Linked DNA regions of Homo sapiens: all the other regions are linked to region 1. The links are contacts of gene promoters, found by promoter capture Hi-C in blood cells and fetal thymus (Javierre and others, 2016). All regions are on one chromosome and are shown on one strand. Each heading gives the region's core, a stretch centred on a gene start or on the middle of the fragment in contact. The rest is flanking DNA. Distances are from core to core; before and after follow the strand shown. Region 1 holds the start of BTLA (B and T lymphocyte associated). Region 2 overlaps LOC105374042 (a long non-coding RNA gene). Region 3 overlaps CD200 (CD200 molecule).

Region 1 (3,309 bases), core at 213-2,712:
AAGCCATAAGGTTATGGCTTTTGACCTGTGGGCCATTTTAAAGGGACAATGAGCCTTGCTTCAGCTGCCTCAAGAAGCTTTTACTCACTGTGAACACAGGAAAAGGAAGGAGCTGTGAAAATACTGCCTTAATATTTCCCAGGATGTTTATTTGATTAGTAACAGAAATTCTAAAAGGCTATGTGTACCCTCTCTGTATTATACTATATTATAAGACCAACACTAAAGGTGGATGTGAGGAAGTCGTAATACTGATTGAACGAGTTCTTTAAAATCAGCAATAGCAACTCATTCATCATTCATCTCCAACCATAGCACATTGTCTATTTGACTCAATAAATACATGATAACTGTTTTTTAATTTTAATTTACCCTTGGCAACTCAACTGGGAGCTCTGAATTAAGTATTGCCCATCAGTTTCCCATGTCAGGTCAAAATGTCCAGCAATCTATACACTTTCCTTGCTCTTAAAACTTTCCTTGAACTTAAAACTATTGAAGTTTGGCCTTGGAATAAAATCATCAGTCTCTGAGGAAAAAACTTATATAATCGACTTCTGTCAATGATCACTAATGCCACAAATCTAGATCTCTCATTTGGAGTCTCAAATGGCAGATGAATTTGATTAGCTCCTATGACTATAAGCTAAGCTAATTATTACAAGTGGATGTGGAGAAAACAGTCCTATGGTGGCCTGTGCTATCTGATCTTGAACTTTTCCATTTCTTCCTTTACTGTTTCTATTCTACTTCATCGAGACAACAACTGCATGAAGAATGTTTAAAATGGAAATTTCCTTTAATTGATATTCAAGATCTCCTTTAGATTAGAACTTTATTATCTAGAGAGAACATGTAGCCAATATTAATGATGATCTTGTTCCATTGATATGTATCCACAGATTAAAGACGGCTGCTCTTCCTTCTTCTGTTGAGGAAGTGCTTCCTGTCACTCATTTTCTCCATAACCTGAGATAAATCTTCACTGGTTTAATGACAATAAGCATCCTCATCTTACCGTGACATGTACAGGAAAAAAAAGAAACCTAAAATCTTTTACATAAAAGAAGTTTCATAATCACAAGCTATCACAAAGGGGAAAATGTATACTTACCATTGATAGTTTTACCATAAATTTCCTGACCTTAATTTGATTAAAATCTCAACTTAAAGACTGCAACAATACAGATTTCTTTAAAGTTTAATTGCTCATTTCACTGAACATTGAGTGCAGGAAAAACCTCAACCTGGGGCAAAAACGTGGTAGAGCGGAAGGAGAAGTTAAGGACTGAGCTGCTTTGCAGATCACAGTGTTTGAAAGTGAACAGCCAACCTGACAAGAAGCAAAAACCACAGAACAGAGTACCACATCGTCTTTCTGTTCACTTTTTTTCACAAAATCATCCAGGCTCTTCCTACTCTCCTCTCTTACCACCTCTCTCTTCTTTTTTTTTTTTTTTTAGTTATTTCACAGATGCCACTGGGGTAGGTAAACTGACCCAACTCTGCAGCACTCAGAAGACGAAGCAAAGCCTTCTACTTGAGCAGTTTTTCCATCACTGATATGTGCAGGAAATGAAGACATTGCCTGCCATGCTTGGAACTGGGAAATTATTTTGGGTCTTCTTCTTAATCCCATATCTGGACATCTGGAACATCCATGGTAAGGCACCTGCTTAGGTTATTTCTGGTTTTATTTCTCAGGGGGTCTTGGAGGCAACATTCTCCCTTGCTGAACTTAGTACGGTGTAACGTTTATACGAAGTGGGTAATCGTAGATGAAACCAAGCTGTTACATTTGCTTACCGAAGACATCGTAGAGCATAAACCAAATTAGAACATAGTATTCACCTGCCTAATCATAGGCATCGCATCAATAGCTTGGCTGACTTTCTTAAAAACATGTTGATGGTAGGAAAAGAGAACTGAGTAGATGTTATAAATAGTTAAGTACAAATCTATCACTACTTCTTGCAAAAATGCTCTGGCTGCCATACTGATAATGAATAGATAGCTCGTTCTTTCCAAACTGAGTGCAGTAGAGTGCTGCAGTGCTCAGTTGGGTAGGACAGTTGTTGGATAATCGGAATTATACATATCTCCATGGTTACCCTCAAATAATATTACCTCTAAATAAAATCTCTATACTTGCTTCATTGGGATGTATGCCTTGAGAATACCGATTGAGAAAATGCTACAAAATATAGGAGCAGAACTTTTCGTCATTGCTTCTATTTTGTTGAAAGGGAATGGTTCCTACTTGGTTGTCAATTGAACACAGAAAATAAGTTGGATTCTGCAAAGATGATATTTAGCCACCCCTGCAAAGACTTTATACAGGCAAAAAAAAAAAAAAAAAAAAAAAGGCAATTTCTTTTTTATTGTAAAGTCGCTTCCTACCTTATATTGCATAGGAACCCACATATTATCAAGAGGAAAAGCCTATGAGTGGCTCATCAGAAGCTTCTGATTTTTCAGGTTTTATTTTTTTATTTTTTTGAGACAAGAGTTTTGCTCTCGTCACCCAGGCTGGAGTGCAATGGCGTGATCCCGCCTCACTGCATCCTCTGCCTCCCGGGTTCAATCGATTCTTCTTCCTCCCGGGTTCAATTTATTCTCCTGCCTCAGCGTCCCTAGTAGCTGGGATTACAGGCACCTTCCACCACGCACAGCTAATTTTTGTATTTTTAGTAGAGATGTTGGATAACCCCAATTATCCAACATCTGTCCTACCCAACTGAGCACTGCAACACTCTACTGCACTCAGTTTGGGAAGAACGAGCTATCTATTCATCATCAGTGTGGCAGCCTGAGCATTTTCGCAAGAAGTAGTGATAGATTTGTACTTAACTATTTATAACATCTACTCAGTTCTCTTTTCTTGCCATCAACCTGTTTTTTAAGAAAGTCAGCCAAGCTATGGATGCAATGCATGTTGGGCAGGCTGGTCTGGAGCTCCTGACCTCAAGTGATCCACCTGCCTCAGCCTCCCAAAGTGCTAGGATTACAGGTATGAGCCACCATGCCCAGTGATTTTTCAGGTTTTAAATATTCTGTCTTATTATTCCCTACAAGCACACATTTATCAGTTTGGCTACTGCAATTTTAAATTAGAAAATCTGGCCACTGAGGTTCTATGGAAAGTCTATCTATAATTTTAAACTGTGTAGTTTGGAATATGTCTCTATGATGCCAGGATGCCACACAACCAAGTGCAAAGTAAAAAAGTCCTTAGTTACTCAAACATCTTTATGTTTGTAAGTATCTAGTATTAAGTCAACTAGGTGCTTAGATGGTTGACTGAATTTT
Region 2 (3,309 bases), core at 592-3,091, 190 kb after region 1:
TCCAAACTAATGTTTTAAAATTATTTTTCTCCCATTTTTCTAACTTGGAATCACTAGAAATTAAAACCATGCTTTTCTTAAAACCCTGCAAACTGAAGCTAGACAACTTGAACTTTGGAAGAAATAACAGCAATTTCATGCCTGACTACTGATGTACAGACTTCTTGTAATATAGCCTGAATCTGTTTTCCAAGATTGCTTTCCCTTTGTTTCTGTAATCTGGTCTTGGTAGCCCCCTTTTTCTCTTTTTTCCCTTTCATTCTTTCTTCCTTCCCCTTTTTCGCTCCTTGGGACAGAAAACTTGACAACCTCCTAGAAATGAGCCTTCCTAGTAACGTGGAACCTAACCTCATAGGAATAAGCTATCTAGCAACAAGGGATCACAAAAAACCCATAACCAGAGACTAATATTCTTCTACAATGCTTTCTCCAAAAGATTTTGAACAATTGGGGAAAATGTGGAAGAAAATAAAATCTCAGGATCCTGAACTCACTATGCTAAAGGGAAAGTTGAGTTTGGGAACTAAGTGAAACAAGAGACTACCTTCCTTTTTTTTCCCAAATAGATTACTGTAATTTCACATGCTTATGTTATGTAGAATGTAGATTTACTGAGCATGAAATGAATGCATAATTGACTTTGTCCCACTCCCTCCTCTTCACATGTAAAACAGACTCACTGAGTGCTAATTACTACCCTCCTTCCTGTTTTTTTCTTCCCCTTCTGCTTCCTCTTTCCTCTTTAAACATTGACATTCCCAAAATCCTCTCTGAAAAAAAGCACAGGGCACAGATCCTACTGTGACTTGTGTTTGTTTTTCCCGGGCACATCCTCAACCGTGGCAAAATGAATCTCAAAATCAATCAAGATCTGCCTTAATTACTTTTTTTACTTACACAGTATAAGCTTAATAATAAAGCTTAATAAAAATATTTCAAGAAAAAAGAATTGCAGACCAGTATCTTTCCTGGGCTTTGATCCTAAAATAAATATTGGATAATCAAATTAACCAATACGTTATAAAAGGATACACAGTAATTATCACTAAGGTTTCCTTCTCTCCAGTAATGCAAGGATGATTTAATATTCACAAATCAATCAATTTAAATCACCATTGACATGGTTAGGCTTTGTGTCCCCACCCAAATCTCATCTTGAATTGTAATCCCCAGGTGCTGAGGGAGAGAACTGGTGGGAAGTGATTGGATCATTAGGGCAGTTCCTCCCATGCTGTTCTCATGATAGTGAGCGAGTTCTCACAAGATCTGATGGTTGTATAAGTGTTTGATAGCTTCTCTCTTGCTCAGTCACTTCTCTCTCCTGCCACCATCTGAAGAAGGTCCTCCTTTCCTCTTTGCCTCTCACCATGATCATAAGTTTCCTGAAGCCTCCCCAGCCATGTGGAACCGTGAGTCAATTAAACCTCTTTCCTTTATAAATTACCTAGGCTCTGGTATTTCTTTATAGCAGTGTGAGAATGGACTAACACAGCCATATTAACAGAAAAAGTGAGAAAAATAATGTGATTAATAGATTCAGAAAAAAGCATTTAATATGTTTCTATACCTATTTATGAATGAATAATAGCTAGCTAGGAATATAAGAGAATTTCCTTTATATAATGAAAGATAACTACAACAAACCTTCAGCTAACATTACACTTAATGGTGAAACTGTTAATGCTTTTCCTTTGAGCTCAGTAACAAGACAAAAATTCCCACCACTCTCAGTCCTTCTCTCCAATGGTTGACTGGAGATCCTAGCTTGGACAATAAGCCATGAGAAAGAAATAAAATGAATAAAGATGGGAATGCATTAAATCAGTCTTTATTTCCAGGTGACATGATTTTGTACTTAAAGAATTAGAAAAATTTACAGAGAAATTATTACAATTAACAAGTCAATTCAGCAAGAACCTGGATTCAAGGTCAATATTCCAAAATAGATAAGATGTCCAGTTTCAGTTTTAACATACAAAGAGCTTGGAATTCATCATCTCATCCTAACACAAGAAAAAAGCTGAACAAACTGAAAATCAATGGTCTTTATTAGACTCTTCAGAGAATTAAAGGCACAGGGAAAACTACAACCCTGAAATCAGCAGAGACGTGAATAGAAAGGCACTGAGATCAGCTTACTCGGAATGAAAGTCACTGGTGTTATAAAATGGTAGGGACATATCAATGATAATTTTGATGGACTGCCAGAGGCTTCATGTGAATCAGCTTGAGAGTGATAAACTCTTCAGAGCTGCAGTCTTAGAGAGACCCCACAATTCCATAGGTTTCACCTCCAGGAACCTTATCAGCTTTTCATAGTAAAGAGCCAAGAAAAATCACTTCATATGTTTAAAAACAGAAGAGGAAATGTAACCATTTTTAAATAAGCCCAGTGCATTTTTCATTAAAAAAAAAAAAACCTACTTTCTAGGAAAAAAAGAAAAAAAAAGATATATATAACCAGAACCTTATCTTATGTAGATGGAAGGAAAATGACCTAACTCCAGTCATTTCTTGCTTTCCTGTCTCATCTAAAGTGGTAAGCGAGAGAAAAATAAGTAAGAAAATGTATGAAGGTCATAAGTGTTGTGGGATTCAGGAGAATGAGAGAGAGACCTAGAGTTGAAACAGGAGAATCTTTTATTGAGTGCACTCAGGCCCAGCTGACTCAACGTCCAAAAGACTGGGCCCAGAACGAAGACAGCACTTGACTTTTATACACACTTCACAAAAGAAGGTGGGCTAGCTTGAAGTAAGCTTACAGTGGCATGAAAGCAGGGATACAGAGGCAGGACAAAGATGGTTAATCAAATTGTAACAGGTTCATAACTCAGGATTACACATAACCATTGCTATGCAACCCAGATGTCCATTATCTGGGTTTGCCTAGGCACAGGCGTATCCTATAACCTTCACTATGGCGCCCAGGTGACTGTAACTGAGATCTGCTCAGACGCTCATGACCTTCACTCTACTGCTTAGATAAAACAGATTACTTGAAGTCACTAGTTACAGAGAACAGGAATCTGTGAACTCATTCCATAAAACAAAGGAAAATTTGTTTTTCTTCTCCTTATGTTGAGAGAGTGCTGGGAGAGTCTCCAGAGCACATTAGATAATATTATCAAGACTCTTCCTGGGTCTGGGCTGTGCCTGTTGCTGCCCCTGGGACAAATCAGCCTAATACAGAAAAACTTTTTTCTCTTTCTTTTTAATTTTATTTTTCTTTAATTTCCCACCTCAATAGCCTATAGCCAAGGTACACAGGCCCACTAAAAGAGTGAGAATTAATCATAAGATTTTAGAATG
Region 3 (3,309 bases), core at 223-2,722, 150 kb after region 1:
TTCCCTGTGAACTTGTGTTTACGGGATGCTTATGACGAAGACAAAGGAAGTCAGAATTGCTTCCTCTATGAAAAGGTAGGAATAGGGAGAAGCAGGAAATATGCAAGAACTGAGATTCTAAGAAAAAAAAAGTTTTTGTAATATTATAGTTAGTGATAGAAAACAAGGGAAAGCAGAAGTGATGCTTTTGCATTACAGATTTGAGAGACAAAATATAATCCTGGAAAATAAAGCCTTGCCTGGTCAGAGGTTCTGACCAGGTTTTGAAGTTCTTTGATAGAGAGTTGCCAGGAACAGAGCAAAGGCTATGGAATTACAGAGAGAGAATGCTTCCACTGGGAGGTCAGTAAACAGCTGTCCCTCTAAGTAAGTCACTCCCACACCCTCTTAGCATTTGTGATAGGCATAATAATGGCACCCCAAAGACATCCATATTCTAATTCCAGGAATCTGTGAATATGTTACTTTACATGGCTAAAGGAATTTTGCTGATGTGATTAAATTAAGGACCCTGAGATGGATTATGCAGTTGGGCCCATTGTAATCACAAGGATCCTTATAAAGGAAAAAGGAGACAAATGTTTCAGATTTAGAGTGATTCAGTGTGAAAAAGACTCAACTGGACATTGTTGGTTTTGAAGATGCAAGGCAAGGAAAGTGGGCAGTCTCTAAAAGCAGGAAAAGAGAGAGAGGGAAAAAAAGGATTCTCCCCTAGAGCCTCCAGAAAGGAATGTCTCCCTGCAGACACCTTGTTTTAAACCCAGTGAGACCCATGTTGGACTTCTGATCTCTAGAACTGTAGTATAATACATGTGTGTTGTTTTAAGCCGCTAAGTGCGTGATAATTTGGTAAAGAAGCAATAGAAAATTAATACAGCATTTATGATGTTTCCCCCTCTGTAAGCCATGTTGAGTACTTTCATTAAGTGGCCCAATCTTTTCCAGTTTAAATAGCATACAGTTGGCTTCTTTTGTTAGTAGAGGCTAGGGCCTTGTATCTGTTTAGAGGCAAGCTTATTATATGGGTGTGACTATACTACTGAAATGCACAGCGGTTCCAAACAAAACAAACTGGTAATAGACACTAGGTAAAGGATATATGCAAACTAAAATGCAAAAGGAGCAGAGATGTTAGAGGATTTTTCAGCTGGTAGATTTTCTCATCCTTTTTGTTTTTCATTAATTAGTCTAACAGGTACTGACAGCTAATCTCCTTGAAAAGCCCCATGGCCAAAAAGCCAAGGGAATGAGTATGCCATTTGAGGACTGAACACACATTGAATTATTGGGCAGGAGACTGAGATGTCTTGATTCCTAGAGATGTTCCCCACATACAGACTGAAACTTAAAATTTGGGTCATCTATGCCCATGTGGGTTTAGATGTTAGAGAGAACAGCAAAGAACAGCTCCAGGCAAGAATGTCCAGGCATTAAGAATCTGTTTGCTAAGGGTTTTGTGATAAGATTATGTATGTCATCTTGGCATGATAGGTAAATCACCCAAAATTTGTAAAATTTTTGCGGAAAAATAGCCCTGGAATTCAAGATTTCTCCCAGCAATACTAATCTAAGCAGTTCAATGAAGATTCTTTATCGCTTTTCTCATGTAAAGCATCACATTTCTTCCTCCTGGAACTATGAGGATACTGGGGTGGGGTTGGGTAGTGCCATTCATCCAGCCTCTGTCAGGGAAGCATAAGTACTTTTTGAGCAAAGCAAAGGTTCTTATTTCATACAGCCCGGACAGAGGGCTACCCATTCATACAGCCTTTGTACGGGAAGCAAAAGTGCTTTCTGAGCAAAGCAAAGGTTGTTATTTCAGGAGGGGTGAACAGATATTTTTTGTTTTCCCCTTTCAACTAATGACCAATTACATCATCACAAATTGTTTATCGAACACCTTTGTTGTTTGTATTAAGTATTAAGCTTAAAATAGGAGAAAGTCACATGCTGTTATCCAGGAAATGACGTTTTATTAACTTTGCCATTGTTATTATACATTGTCAGGAACCCATTCATAGGTTAGGTTATTGTGAAGAGAAGGAAATCAAGATAAATATACAGCTCATGCAGATGAAAAACATATTTCTACATGGATTAGCTAGTACTTGAAAAAAAAGTGAAGTTTGGCATATAAATTTTACATGATTGTCTAAATTTTCTATTGTTCTCCAAAGCAGCCTTGACTCAACCAAACCAAAGCAAAGCAAACCAAACCAAACAAAATAAAGCTGCCTAAAAATTAGGTGATTGTCTATGATGATCTGCCTCAAAGTGAAGTTTCTTTTATTGTTTCTGAGAAGCATGTAATTGTTGGTGGGTTGACTAATGAGAAATAAAAGATTATTCTCAACTCCAAATTTAACTACATTGTCATATATGTGAAAGGCACAACTTTATGAAATCACTGGGTTTTAATAGAAAGAAGTATTTCGAGATGGTGGAAAATTTCCCTAGGAAATTTTAATTCTTTCTCACTTACTGTTTTAAAGTGCTGGATTCATGAAAGAGAAAAGAATGCTCTTTGAAATCTTATTAGTCTTACTGTGGTAGTCTCCTGGGAAGTAACTGTGATAATTCTATCAGGAGTGGTGCAGAAAAATGGCCTGTGCTACTTCGCAGTTGGAAAAAACCAACGTCATGCTCTCTGGCATTATACAGGATCACAAGAAAAGTAATGGTCGTCTAACTTCTACGTAAAAATAACATCAGTAACTGTAAGTTTGCTTAGGCATTTGTGAGCAATGAGTAGTGATTATGACCTAAAATAAACTTCTGTTTTGGTCATTTACCCAACACAGAATTGACCTTACTTAACAGACTTACCTTACTTACCAGATTTTTATTATTGGCTACTGGACAGCTACATGAAGATAATTCTTTGTCTGCTCACACTCAATAAATTCAAAAACTTATTCGTCTGTCTCCTTTGCTTTTCTACAAACTCTAAACACTCTCTCTCTCTCTCTCTCTCTCTCTCAGTTCCACCTCTTCACTTTAGTGTTTCTGTTCACATCACCATTTTTGAGGTCACCAAGTTCAAAACCTTTGTATTATTTTGGACCAATCGTGTTTTCCTGCTCATTTGGAAATTTTATGTTTTCAGATGATGGAAAGAAAAAGAGAAAGAAAAGAAAAGTAAGGATGAAAACAACTGGAAGGCAAATGTGTAGGACTATTTCCCTTCCTCACAAAATATCAATCAGAATTTGTTAATGGTAGAAATAAAAAGTGTCACTATCTTCTATGATTTTCTGTCCTTTCTCTTTTCTTTGTCCCAACTTTTTGTATAACCTGAAGTTTGGTCTA

The links. The method cuts DNA at HindIII sites, captures the fragments that hold promoters and counts their contacts. A CHiCAGO score of 5 or more calls a contact.
Region 2: a contact is called between a fragment that was not itself captured here and the fragment with the promoter of BTLA in region 1, in 7 of 17 cell types (total B cells, naive B cells, naive CD4 T cells and 4 more). The highest score is 8.3, in total B cells.
Region 3: a fragment that was not itself captured here is called in contact with the fragment with the promoter of BTLA in region 1 in 14 of 17 cell types (total B cells, activated CD4 T cells, naive B cells and 11 more); the score reaches 14.5 in total B cells.

The regions. Positions count from the first base shown.
Region 1 is chr3:112,497,625-112,500,933 of GRCh38, reverse strand. BTLA (B and T lymphocyte associated) reads left to right here and starts at 1,462. Exons shown (of 5, transcript NM_181780.4): 1 at 1,462-1,663. The coding sequence starts at 1,576. RefSeq lists enhancers at 1,741-1,870, 1,961-2,010, 2,879-2,998. The HindIII fragment of the contact is 2,386 bases long and covers 80-2,465 here.
Region 2 is chr3:112,312,210-112,315,518 of GRCh38, reverse strand. All of the region lies in intron 1 of LOC105374042 (a long non-coding RNA gene), which reads right to left. Among named protein-coding and RNA genes, the nearest start is that of CD200, 19 kb to the left of the region's middle. The HindIII fragment of the contact is 1,837 bases long and covers 923-2,759 here.
Region 3 is chr3:112,352,212-112,355,520 of GRCh38, reverse strand. The region is part of intron 5 of CD200 (CD200 molecule); the gene reads right to left. Among named protein-coding and RNA genes, the nearest start is that of CD200, 21 kb to the right of the region's middle. RefSeq lists an enhancer at 133-762. The HindIII fragment of the contact is 913 bases long and covers 1,016-1,928 here.